Linked DNA regions of Homo sapiens: all the other regions are linked to region 3. Evidence: promoter capture Hi-C in 16 types of primary human blood cells and fetal thymus (Javierre and others, 2016). All regions are on one chromosome and are shown on one strand. The core of a region is centred on a gene start or on the middle of the fragment in contact, and the rest is flanking DNA. Distances in the headings are between cores, read along the strand shown.

Region 1 (3,992 bases), core at 41-2,540, 270 kb before region 3:
CAATTCTATTTCTAGAAATTTACCCTACAAGTACTTTCATACCTGTGTGCAAAGCATGGGTGCAAGTTTTTTTTTTTTTTTTTGAGGCAGAGTCTCACTCTGCTGCCTAGGCTAGAGTGTAGTGGCACGATCTCAGCTCACTGCAACCCTCTCTAGGCTCACTACAATCTCCGCCTCCCAGGTTCAAGGGATTCCCCTGCCTCAGCCTCCCAAGTAGCATAGCTGGGATTACAGGTGCCCACCATCACGCCTGGCTCATTTTTGTATTTTTAGTAGAGATGGGGTTTCCCCATGTTGGCCAGGCTGGTCTCACACTCCTGACCTCAGGTGATTGCCCGCCTCGGCCTCCCAAAGTGCTGAGACTACAGGTGTGAGCCAACACGCTCAGTCAAGAATATCTTATAGGAGTTTTGTTTGTTAACAATGACAAATAAACCACCTGAAGTATTCCTCAAGAGGGGACTGAATAAAGAAATAATGGTATGTCCATATCACAAAACACAATAAAGACATCAAAAGAAAGAGGCAAACTATAGCCCACAAGCCAAGAATAATTTTTACATTTTTAAACAGTTGAAGAAAAAAAATCATAAGAATACTATTTCGTGACTTGCAAAAATTACATGAAATTCCAATTTCAGTGTCCTTAAATAAAGTTTTATTGGAACACTCCCGTGTTCATTCATTTACATATGGTCTGTGGCTGCTTTTGTGCTATAATAACAGAGACCATATGGCCCGCAAAAGCCTGAAACGTTTACTATTGCCTCTTTATAGAAAGTTGCCCAGAAAAATAAACAAATAAATGAATAAAAATCAAATAAGCAAAAAGAAAGTTTGCCTGGCTTCTTTCCCTTCATAGCTCTTTCAACATGCCCAACTCTGTTCTAAAACATTTTAATGTTAATATACATCTATTAATTTACAGATATTAGTTTATTTAACCCTCACAGCTCTACAAAGTAGCCGCTGTTCCTATCATTCTGATTCTGCACGCAAGGACACCGTGGTACAACAGAGAGGCAAGCAGCCTGCTGAAGGTCACAGGGCCTGTAAGTGGCCAAGTCCTATTTCCTAACTCCCACATCACAGCAATCTTCCCAGATGGTAGCTTGCAAAAAAACCCCCAAAAATAAAAACACACCCCTACACATAGTAACCATTGGTAATGGCTCAAGTCATCTTAGGGAGTTGGAACCAGCACTTAAAAAGAACAGTAGAGGCTGGGCGCAGTGGCTCACGCCTGTAATCTCAGCACTTTGGGAGGCCAAGGTGGGCAGATCACCTGAGGTCAGGAGTTTGAGACCACCCTCGGCAACATGGTGAAACCTTGTCTCAACTAAAAATACAAAAATCAGCTTGGCATGGTGGGGCACTCCTGTAATCCCAGCTACTTGGGAAGCTGAGGCAGGAGAATCGCTTGAACCTGGGAGGTGGAGGTTGCAGTGAGCCGAGATAGTGCCACTACACTCCAGCCTGGGCAGCAGAGGGAGACTCCATGCCTCCCCGCTAACCCCAGAAAAAACAATGGAAACAAAATAGAAAATATTGATGTGTATCACACATTGTAATATAGGTAATATTTCATGAAACTTTTGTTTCAGTGATATGTGTATATATACAAATACATATATGTATGCATGTCCTGGGTGGTGACATAAAATGAAATTCTTGTGCCGGGCATGGTGGCTCATGCCTGTAATCCCAGGACTTTGGGAGGCCAAGGCAGACAGATCACCTGAGGTAAGGAGTTCAAGACCAGCCTGGCCAACATGGAGAAAACCTGTCTCTACTAAAAATACAAATATTAGCTGGATGCGGTGGCGTGCGCCTGTAGTCCCAGCTACTCGGGAGGCTGAGGCAGGAGAATCGCTTGAACCTGGGAGGTGAAGGTTGCAGTTAGCCAAGATCGTGCCACTGCACTCCAGCCTGGGTGACAGAGAAAAAAAAAAAAAAACAAATTCTTATCCCGGGTGGTGGGTCAAGGAAAAAAAAAGGTCTGAAAGCCAGTGCTCCAAGATGCGTTGCTAAATAAGCAAAGCCAGATGCAGAACACAGTCTTTGCATTTCTGTTTGTGTTAACACAAAGGGAAAATGTACGCATGCGCGCGCGCGCGCACACACACACACACACACACACACACACACACACACACACACACAGAGGCTGCCAAATCCATCTGGGTACAGAGAGCACAGAGTTCCTTCCGAGTGCAGGGGTTGGAGTTCGGACAGTAAGGGAACCACTATTCTTACAAACAGTAAGAATCACCCAGATTGGGAACTGCTATTCCGTGCATTCCTGCATATCCACAGGATAGCGGTTCCCAGTCTGGATGATTCTGTCCCCACCAGGGGACACTTGGCCAATCACCCAGTCACACACCCACCCATGCCATCCATCCGTCCGTCTATTCAGCCATCCATCTGTCCATCCATTTGCTCACCCAACAAACATTCACTGACCACCTTCTGTCATGCTGGGTCCCCACTGCTGCAGATACAGCTACTGCGGAGGGCCCTACCTTGTGCCTCCGAGCCTCTGTGTGTGACTAAGAATCAGCTCGTGTGCACACCTGCCTGTGCGCACTAAGCTTCCTTCTCAAAGGTCATCCGCGTGGCCAGGCACAGTGGCTCACGTCCATAATCCCAGCCCTGTGAGAAGCCAAGGTGGGAGGATTACTAAGCCTAGGAGTTCGAGACCAGCCTGGGCTGCATAGTGAGACCCCATATCTCCCCCACAAAACAAAATACAAAAAAAAAAAAAATTAGCTGTGCGTGGTGGCACATGCCTGTAGTCCCAGCTACTTCGGAGGCTGAGGTGGGAGGATCACTTAAGCATGGGAGGCGGAGGTTGTAGGAGTCAATATTGCACCAGTGTACTCCAGCCTGGGTGACAGAACCAGACCCTGTTTCCAAAAAAATAAGTTCAGCTACAGCATCATTACTGCAACTGCTAACAGTAAGTGTCTGTTCACTGAGCGCTGGCTCTGTGCAGTGCCATCATGTCAGGTCACTGGGCTTATTCCCATTTTAGATGCAAAATCCATGCCTCAGAGAGCTCCACTAAGCAGAGCTGGATTCACACCCAGGTCTGGCTTTCTCAAGACTTCAGGTGTTTCCAGCAATAAGCCCCCAGGGTTTTTAATCCAGGCCCTACCATTTGCCAGCTGTGCAACCTTGGGCAAGCTAATTATTCTCCCTGTGCCTCTGTTTCCTCACCTGCAAAATGAGATGCTACCACCTACCTGGTGGAGGTGGTGAGGTTTAAATGAGAGAGTGCTAGGCCGGGCGCGGTGTCTCACACCTGTCATCCCAGCACTCTGGGAGGCTGAGGTGGGTGGATCACCTGAGGTCAGGAGTTTGAGACCAGCCTGGCCAACATGGCGAAACCCCATCTCTCTACTAAAAATATAGAAATTAGCCAGGCATGGTGGCGGGCGCCTGTAAATCCCAGCAATTTGGGAGGCCGAGGCAGGTGGTTCACCTGAGGTCAGGCGTTTGAGACCAGCTTGGCCAACATGGTGATACACTATCTCTACTAAAAATATGAAAATTAGCCAAACATGGTGGCAGGCACCTGTAATCCCAGCTACCCAGAAGCTGAGGCAGGAGAATCACTTGAACCCAGGAGGTGGAGATTGCAGCGAGCCGAGATCTTGCCACTGCACTGCAGCCTAGGCGACGGAGTGGGACTCTGTCCCCCTCAAGATAATAGTAATAATAATAAAAGCAAACATTTATCAAGTGCTTACTTTGTGCTAAGCATATAGTAACTCGTTTACTCCACCTAAGTGCTCCCTCAGCCTGCCTAGGCACCTGCTGATGGAATGAAAAACTGGTTGCTGAAGGTTAAATGGTAAGTGGGAGAGCGTGCAAGTGAAACCATGGCCGTTCGAGGTCAAAGCCTGTGCTGACTTCTGCCATCCTGCCCTTGTCACTGTCACACTCTCCTCTTCCTACCTATCCACTGGTCTTTTTTGAATGAGTAC
Region 2 (4,588 bases), core at 1,012-3,511, 290 kb before region 3:
CGAAGGATGCAGAAGCTGCCTGGAAGAAACGGATTCCTTAATCGCTTCATTCATTTCTTCCTCCCTTCTCCCTTCCATCATTTGACACCTTTTCACTGAAATCACTCACTCCATGCTTCAGGCACTGTGGACCCAGAAATGAGCCAGAGATCATCCCCTACCCACCCAGGGCCCCCAGTAAGGACCCAGACACATGCCAGACATCCAGAGGAGGGCATGAGAAACAGACCACAGCACCAGTAAGACTCAGGGCAGGGTTGACTTTTGAGCTGCTCCATGAAGAGCAGGCAAGACAAGGGGATTTAGGCAGAGAGGACGGTGCGTGCAAAGGTCTGGGGATGTGAAAGGTCCTGGTGTACTGGGAGCCATGAAACATCTGGGTAGGTGGCCAGACACAGGGGCACAAAGAGGAGGGGTGAGAAATGGAGCTGAGAAGGTTGCCTGGGTGCACCCAGGTCATGAGGGCTGTTGGGTGTTAACAAGAAAAATAATGCAACATTTATGATCACTGCATGCCAGGTACTGTACTAACTCACTTAACATTTATAACCCTGTAAAGTAGGTCTATTATCATCCCTGCTTTGCTTTGCTTTTCTTTCTTTTTATTTATTTATTTATTTATTTATTTATTTATTTATTTATTTGGAGATGGAGTCTCACTCTGTAGCCCAAGCTGGAGTGCAGTGATACAATCTCAGCTCACTGCAGCCTTCACCTCTGGGGCTCAAGGGATTCTCCTGCCTCAGCCTCCCAAGTAGTTGGGACTAGAGGCATGCACCACCACACCCAGTTAATTTTTTTTTGTATTTTTAGTAGAGATGGGTTTCACCATGTTGCCCTGGGTGGTCTCGAACTCCTGAGCTCAGGTGATCCACCCACCTCAGCCTCCCAAATTGTTGGGATTACAGGTGTGTGCCACCATGCCGGCTCATCTCTGCTTTTTTAACAAGGCAAAGGAGGCTCAGGAAGACAGCAATAAATTACCCAAGATCACTTAGCTGGAAAATGCTCAAGCTGGGACTCAAACACAGGCAGCCTGACCTCAGAGGTTGCAATCCTATTATAGGTCTAAAGATCTGAGTTAGGGAGGTTAGCCATGACCAACCCAGGAGCAATGAGCACCTCCAGCACCCAGACTGTGTTCTCTATCTTCCCTTACTAGCCTTTTATTCACCGTAGGATCTGTAGTGATGTCCCCTCTTTCATTCCCGATATCAGCCACAGGTGTGGGTATTTGCTTTTTTTAAAAAAGAAAAACAAAAACGATTGCTCCCCGTTGATGCTTATGATTTTACTGATCTTTTCAAAGAATCAACTTTTGGTGAGATGGGAGTCTCTAAATACCATTCCCCACTAAAAGAACCTGGGACTCCTTAGAGAAATGGTGGATTCCAGGGCGGGGGCAGGGAAGAACAAGTGAGCCTGGGTCAGAAGGTGAGGAAGTGCTCAAAGGCCGATAGGGCATGTTACAGGGACAGAGGACCCAGCTTGCAGGGGTGCCCAGTGGCCAAACATGGGGCAATTTGAGCATCAAAATAACTGCAAATCAAATATGCTAAAATCCATAAAATCATGAGACTTAAAAGGGGTGGCCAGGGAGTAGGGGAGATAAAAGCAAAAGGAGTTCGTAAAGGAGTGGCAAGAATGGAAAAGAGAGGCAGGATCTGGGATGTGGGCAGAGGGAGAGGGCTCTGGGCGGTGTCCCAGGCAGGGAGGGCCCTGAGAGAGAGCTGGGGAGAATGCTATCAGCGGTGGCCGATGGAGCTGGTGAGGCAGGAGAGGGGCTCTTGAGTGGCTGGAGGGACCAAGTTAGCTGATATGGATGAGGGCGTGGAGGGAGACCCTGCAGAGAGGATCTCTTCTAGCCCAGGGGATAGGGAGGGGTGTTGGGGGAGGATGGAGGAGACTGGGGGAGTGTGAGAGGCTGCGAAAGACTGGAGGAAGAGTGGGAGGAAGAGTGGGAGGAGTGGGAAGAGTGGGGGACATGGTTACAGACTGGGGGGACTGGTGAAGACTGGGGGACACCTGGGGAGACCGTTACAGACTGGGGACAGGGTGGCAGGGAGCAGGGGTCAGGCATGAGGAACCAGGGCAGGCTTGGGCGGGGGTCGGGAGGCGACAGCTGCGGTGCTGGGAGCACTCACCGACGGGGCGCGCTGGCGGCTGCAGCGGGCTGGGCAGGCTGGGAGAGGGTGGGGTCCCGCGAGGATCCGAAGCGCCCGCGGAGCGGCCTGTGCTCGCGGTCCCGTCCGGAGCCGTCTGAGCCGGGTGGGGCCCGGAGCGGGGAGGACGGGAGGGAGGACAGGAGGGAGGGGCGGGACGAGGCGCCCCCCTCAAAACCGGGCGCCCGGCCTCTGGCGCCCCCTTGTGGGGAGTGGGGAAGACGCCTTAGCACGGCGGGCGAGAGCTCCAGCGTCCAGCCTGGGGTTCGAATTCCGCCTCCACCTCCAGCGTTGGGCTGCTCCCCAGTCTGTCTCTCTTCTTAACACGGGAATCACAACAGCAGCAGCAATAATAGTAACAATAACAGGTCGGGCGCCCTGGCTCACGCCTGTAACCCTAACACTTTGGAAGGCCAGGGTGGGAAGATTGCTTGAGGCCAGGAGTCCAAGACCAGCCTGGACAATATAGCGAGACCCCATGTCTATTAAAAATAATAATAAATAATAAAATAATTTAGCCAGGCACAGGGGTGCACACCTGTGATCCCAGCAACTTGGAAAGCTGAGGTGGGAGGATAGCTTGAACCCAGGAGGTCAAGGCTGCAGTGAGCTATGATTGTGCCACTGCACTCCAGCCTGGGTGACAGAGCGAGACCTCACCTCTAAAAAAAATAATAGGACGGGGCGCGGTGGCTCACGCCTGTAATCCCAGCACTTTGGGAGGCCGAGGCGGGTGGATCACTTGAGGTCAGGAGTTCAAGACCAGCCTGGCCAACATGGTGCAAACCCATCTCTACTAAAAATACAAAAAAATTAGCTGGGCGTGGTGGCGGGCGCCTGTAGTCCCAGCTATTTGGGAAGCTGAGGCAGGAGAATCACTTAAACACAGGGGAGGTGGAGCTTGCAGTGATTGCGCCACTGCACTCCAGCCTGGGGACAGAGCAAGACTCCATCTCAAAAATAAATAAATAAACAAAAATTAGCTGGATGCAGGCACGCACCTGTAGTCCTAGCTACTTGGGAGGCTGAGGCTCCCAAGTTCCAGAATCACTGGAACCCAGGAGGCAGAGGTTGCAGTGAGCCAAGATCACGCCACTGCACTCCAGCCTGGGTGACAGAGTGAGAATCCATCGCAAATAAATAAGTAAATATAATATTAATATTAAAACTTAAGGGAGTTGATGAAACTTCTCAGCTGACAACCCTCCCTGGCTCTCCTCTCTCTCAGAGTAAAAGCCGAAGTCCACACCAAGGCCCACAAAGCCTAGCATGATCCACCTACATCTCCCCTGTCCCCCTTCCTCAGGCGGCTCCAACCGCCGTGGCCTCCTCACCATTCCTCAGACACACCCCCAACCCTCCAAGTTCATGGCCTTTGCACTTGCTGACTCCTCTCCATGGAGTACTTTCCCCATAGGGATCTGAATGCCTCACTCTCTCCCCTCCTTCAGGTCCCTGCTCAAATGTCACCTCCTCAGAGAAGTCCTCCAGGATCACCCTGGCTAAGGTAGAACCCACTCTCTACCTCTTATCACTGCCCTATTTTTCTCCACAGCCCTCCCAACCACTCTGCATATTCCACATTTCTCTGCCTAAGGGACTGTCTTTGCCCTGAGAACATGAGCCCCGTGAGGGCTTTGCACAATGCCCAACTCCCTGCAGGGGCTCAGTAAACATTTGTAGAAACAATCCCTAATGTTGACTGAGCCATTCCTATGTGCAGGCACCGCTCTGAGCTCTTTGCATGCATGTATTAGCTCATCGAACCCTCATCATATCTCCAAGAAACAGGAGTTTTGGGGTTTTGGTTTTTGTTTTTGTTTTTGAGACAGTCTTACTCTATCGCCCAGGCTGGAGTGCAGTGGCACGATCTCAGCTCACTGCAACCTCCGCCTCCTGGGTTCAAACTATTCTCCTCCCTCAATCTCCCCAGTAGCTGGGATTACAGGTGCATGCCACCACACTTGGCTAATTTTGTTTTGTTTTGTTTTTTTGAGTCAGAGTCTCGCTCTGTCGCACAGGCTGGAGTGCAGTGGCACGATCTCGGCTCACTGCAAGCTCCGCCTCCCGGGTTCACGCCATTCTCCTGCCCCAGCCTCCCGAGTAGCTGGGATTACGGCGCCCACCACCATTCCCGGCTAATTTTTTGTATTTTTAGTACAGACAGGGTTTCACCATGTTAGCCAAGATGGTCTCGATCTCCTGACCTCGTGATCTGCCCGCCTCGGCCTCCCAAAGTGCTGGGATTATAGGCATGAGCCACTGCGCCCGGCCTAATTTTGTGTTTTTAGCAGACAAGGGGTTTCACCATGTTGGCCTGGCTGGTCTCGAACTTCTGACGTCAAGTGATTTACCCACCTCAGCTTCCCAAAGTGCTGGGATTATAGGCATGAGCCACCATGCCCAACTGAATTGTATGCTTTAAA
Region 3 (4,306 bases), core at 349-2,848:
GGGAGGCCCAAGCACACCCTCGAAGAGCCGACAGGCAGCCGCGACGCAGTGACACAGGCACCCCCGCTCCAGCACCAGGCCTGGCCGCCACCTGCTCCCTCCCCCTGGGAACAGAAGGGTCCCAGGACTATTTAAGGGAGACAGCCAGGAAGAGAGAGAGAGAGAGAGAGAGAGAGAGAGAGAGTGTGTGTGTGTGTGTGTGTGTGTGTGTGTGAGAGAGAGAGAGAGAGAGCGAGAGACAGAGACGGACAGACAGACGGATGGACAGACAGAGGGAAAGACTGGAGGAAGAGCCTCAGAAAGCCGGAGCCTCCCCCCTGCTCCCTCCGTCCCCCGCCGGCATCCTCCATCCTCCCCCAATCAATTTCTCTCCCACACACTTATTTCTCCCTTCCCAACAGCTCGTCTCTTTCTTTAATTAGAAAGATTTATGCTTCAGAGTCCAAGCCCCCTGCTCTTGTTTTGGGGGTGGCAGGGACGACTCCAGGGTCTCTATTGGAGCTCCTGTCCCCCACTCCCTCCCCCTCCTGTCTGTCTCACTCTGTCTGCACCTCTCTCTCTCTCTCCTCCCACCCGCGTCTGTCTCTGTCTCTCTCTCTCTCTGAATCACACCGTCACTGGAGTTACCTCCCTCCCCACTCCAGTTAGGCCCCATCCCCATCCCAGGTGCCCCCTCCCTCCCTTCCTGCTCTGTCCACGCCCCCCACCACTGGCCGTCAGATGAGGCCGCACTTGCTCCTCTAGGTTTCAGAATCAGCCTGGGCTAAGGGGACCTTAGCATGCACCACCCCCCAAAAAAGCAAATAGAGCCAGAGACTCCTAACCCTTGCATCCCTCACCCCAAGTCTTGGCTGAGGGTGAGGTGGGGGTGGAGCAGACCAAAGGGCCTTGTGTCTTTAATTAAAAAGTGATTTAAATTAATTTTCTGCTCCAAAACCCCTATCTGGGGTGCGCCGGCCTTGAGGAAAGGCAAGGCCTCCAGACCCTTCCCCTCGGACTGCCTTAAACGGCCAGCCTCACCGCAGGACAGCCACGGGGGCAGAGCCCGCCGGCATGGGGACCCCCAGACTCAGCCAAGACCCTGAGTCCTGGCACCCTCTAGCTTAACTGTTTCTCCGTTATCCACAGCCCACCCCCGCCGCCCCCAGCGCACTGCCCATCCTGCAGAGGGGGAATCGAGCCTCAGAGAGGGGAGAGCCTACGGTGGGACCAGACTCCAGATTCCCACGTGACCCCTGGAGATGGCCAGGGAGGGGGTCCGTGGTGTGTCCAGGGGGCTCGGAGAACAGAGAGCCAGAGGAGAGAAAGGACGGGAGAAGCGGAGACAGAGAGAGACAAGGAGAGAGAGACTGGGAAAGAGGGAGACTGAGAAACCCGGAGCAGGAACCCCAGCCCTGGGTAGGAGAGGAGGGGCCTGGGGGCACCAGGGCCGCGGTCTCTTCCTCTCCTCCCCCCACAGCCTGCCCCTCCCCGACTCCCACCGGAAGTGCTGCTGCTGCCCTAACCCCAATCCCTCGTGCTGTAGCTCTGCAGGCTCACTCTGGCTCATCCCCTATCCCGCTCCTTGGTGGTTCTGTTTAATTTCCACAAGACAAGGGAGAGACCGGGAACGGGGAGCGCGGCTGCCAGCACCCCTGAGCCGCCGCCGGACCCTCCGTCGCCCCGGGCCGCCCCCCGCCCCCTGCGGTCCCCGGTGTGTCCGTCTCGGGACGGTTCGATTCCCTCCAGAGCCGGGGAAGGGACGGGGGGGGCCCAGAGGAGGGGGCCTCGGGCGCCCCGCCTGCGCCTGCTGCCCCCGCCCCGGCGGCGATGCGCTCCTGGCCGTGACCCCCGCTGGGGGCGGGGGCCGGGGTCCATGCGCGGAGTCCCCACCCGGCCCGGCGCCTGCCGCTGACGGCGGCGGGGGTGGGGGGGCGCGCGCCTGGCCTCCTGCCCACCCCCTGGCGTCAACACCGCGGGCCGTCAGGGGCTGCGGCCCCGGGCTGCGCCCTCCCCCGCGGCCAGGCTCTGGAGGGACCCAGGAGCTGCCGCCGGCCTCAGCCCATGGCCCGGAGGGTAGGTCTCGGGGCGGGGACCCCGCGTCCCGGCCGCTTCCGCACCCCCTGTCCCTGCATCCCCCACTCTCCGGCGCTGGCCCCCATTAGCCCATCCGTCCTCTACACCACCTCGCTCTCTCTCTGCCCCTCCCTCCGCCCCTGGGTCTCCCAGTCCCTGTGTGCCCCCTCTCTGCCCCCAAGTGTCTCTTCCTGGCCCTCGGCCTCGCCTCCTCCCCATCGTTTAGCTTCTCCTTCTCCCTGCCCCTCTGTCCCCCTCTGTCTGCCCCACTCTCCTCCTCCTTTCTGCCTCTCTGTCCCCCTCTCTCTGTCCCTGGTCTCCCCCCTCTTTCTGCCTCTCTATCCCCCTCTCTCTGCCCTCCCCCACCCGCAGTCTCTCTCCTCTGTTCCTGGGCTTCCTCCTCCATCTCAGCCGCCCGCACCTCACCGTCCCCCCTTTTTTCTGCTCTCCTCCGTCCTTCCCTTCGCTCTACTTTTGTTCCAAGCCGCCCCTGCCTCTCCAGGGCTAGGAGTGGGACAGGGGTGGGAGAGGTGGTCTCACCAGGCTGCTGGCCCCACGGAGCCTGTCTCCCTGGGGATGGGAACGGGGATAGAAGACAGGGGAGGAGGCGCGCGCCCGTTTTGGGGGTTCCGGGTAGGCTGTGAGGACCGCTTTTGGTGAGAGTGCCTTGAGCAGCGGGGAGCAGTTGGATTCAACTTCAGGGCACAGGAGAAGTTAGGAGAAGAGGGAGAGGGAAAGAGTGGGACACACAGAACCAGGGTGCCCAGCCAGGCGAGGGTCCGAGGCAGGAACGTTCTAGCCTCTTCCCGTGCGAGTCCTGCTGCCTCTTTGAGCCTCCGTGTCTTCATCACTGAGGAAGGGATTTGACCTGATGAGAGGAAGGTGCCCCTGGCTTCCCAGGTGCATGGTTCTGTGACGACAGGACGCGGTCGTCCTACCCCATAATGGTGTTTCTCTTGGGTGCGCAATCGTGTCTGTATGGTGGTGCGGAGTGACCCTCTCCGGCAACAAGTGCTCACAGCATGAGCCAGGCCCTGTGCTAAATGCCTCATTCATTCATTCATCCATGTGCCAAATGTCTCAATCATGCATTCATTCTTGTGCCTGGTGTTGGGCTGTGTGCATGTGTGTGTGCATGTGTGTGTGGGGGGGGGGATTTGGGTGTGACTGACACATGAGTGTGCACGTGGGTTGGTGTGTATGGCTGTGTCTACATGTGTGGTAGATTCACGTGGCGAGTGGAGTGTGACATGTTGTTGAGACTTACTCTGATGCGCTTATCTGCCAACTGTGAAATGAAATAGAAGACAGGGAGGCTTCGTATGTGTACTTTGTGTACAACAATGCGCGGTTCCTACAGGAGGTGTCCATGGATCTCCCTCTCTGTCTGTCTCTCTCTCTGTCTCTGTCACTGTCTTCTCACGCCACTTTCTCCATCTCTTTTCCCTCCCAGCCAGACCCTGCCGTCTCTCCCTCTGGGTCCTCCTGCCCACATGTCAGGAATCTCTGCCTGGACGGGGTCCTCACTCCCCACCGAGGCAGCTCCAGGGGACCTGGAGGGCTTCAAGCTTGGGGGCTCAGACACCTGGGGACCACAGGCAGGTTTCTGGGACACAGAAGGGCATCTCCTGGGTTCCAGGATAGAGAAGCTCCTCAGCCGAGTCTCGGGGTGCTGACCCCTCCCTGGGGCTCCGCCCTTCTCTTCTCACCTTCCCCCAGTATGATGAGCTGCCGCACTACCCAGGCATCGTGGATGGCCCCGCAGCCCTGGCTAGCTTCCCAGAGACAGTGCCCGCAGTACCAGGGCCCTATGGCCCGCACCGGCCTCCCCAGCCCCTGCCCCCAGGCTTGGACAGCGACGGCCTGAAGAGGGAGAAGGATGAGATCTATGGGTGAGTGGGGCCGGGTCTCAGGCTCCTGTCTCTCTCTCTCTGTCTTTCTGCTTCTTTGCTCCCTGGGTCTGCTTCTGTCTCTCTCTGTGTACGAGTCTCTGTCTCCTTCCCTCTCTGGGTCTCTTGTCCCCTCCCCAGCTGTTCTGCATCTTGGCAGCCCCTCCATCCACCTCCCAGCCTCTCCCTCAACCTCTCTCCTTTCCTGCCTCCCCAGACACCCGCTCTTCCCCCTCTTGGCCCTGGTCTTTGAGAAATGTGAACTGGCTACATGCTCTCCCCGTGACGGGGCCGGAGCTGGGCTGGGGACACCCCCTGGAGGTGACGTCTGCTCCTCTGATTCCTTCAACGAGGACATCGCT

Evidence for each region. The method cuts DNA at HindIII sites, captures the fragments that hold promoters and counts their contacts. A CHiCAGO score of 5 or more calls a contact.
Region 1: a contact is called between a fragment that was not itself captured here and the fragment with the promoter of MEIS3 in region 3, in 5 of 17 cell types (erythroblasts, neutrophils, endothelial precursors and 2 more). The highest score is 5.6, in erythroblasts.
Region 2: the fragment with the promoter of EHD2 here is called in contact with the fragment with the promoter of MEIS3 in region 3 in 4 of 17 cell types (neutrophils, erythroblasts, naive CD8 T cells and 1 more); the score reaches 9.3 in neutrophils.

Annotation. Positions count from the first base shown.
Region 1 is chr19:47,683,913-47,687,904 of GRCh38, reverse strand. The region is part of intron 7 of BICRA (BRD4 interacting chromatin remodeling complex associated protein); the gene reads right to left. Among named protein-coding and RNA genes, the nearest start is that of EHD2, 28 kb to the left of the region's middle. The HindIII fragment of the contact is 2,612 bases long and covers 1-2,596 here.
Region 2 is chr19:47,711,095-47,715,682 of GRCh38, reverse strand. EHD2 (EH domain containing 2) reads right to left here and starts at 2,261. Exons shown (of 6, transcript NM_014601.4): 1 at 2,145-2,261. RefSeq lists a silencer at 2,285-2,384. The HindIII fragment of the contact is 37,601 bases long and covers 1-4,588 here.
Region 3 is chr19:47,416,819-47,421,124 of GRCh38, reverse strand. It overlaps MEIS3 (Meis homeobox 3), which reads left to right and starts at 1,598. Exons shown (of 13, transcript NM_001301059.2): 1 at 1,598-2,055; 2 at 3,775-3,947; 3 at 4,162-4,306. The coding sequence starts at 2,044. RefSeq lists enhancers at 1,518-2,511, 2,512-3,504. The HindIII fragment of the contact is 31,601 bases long and covers 1-3,625 here.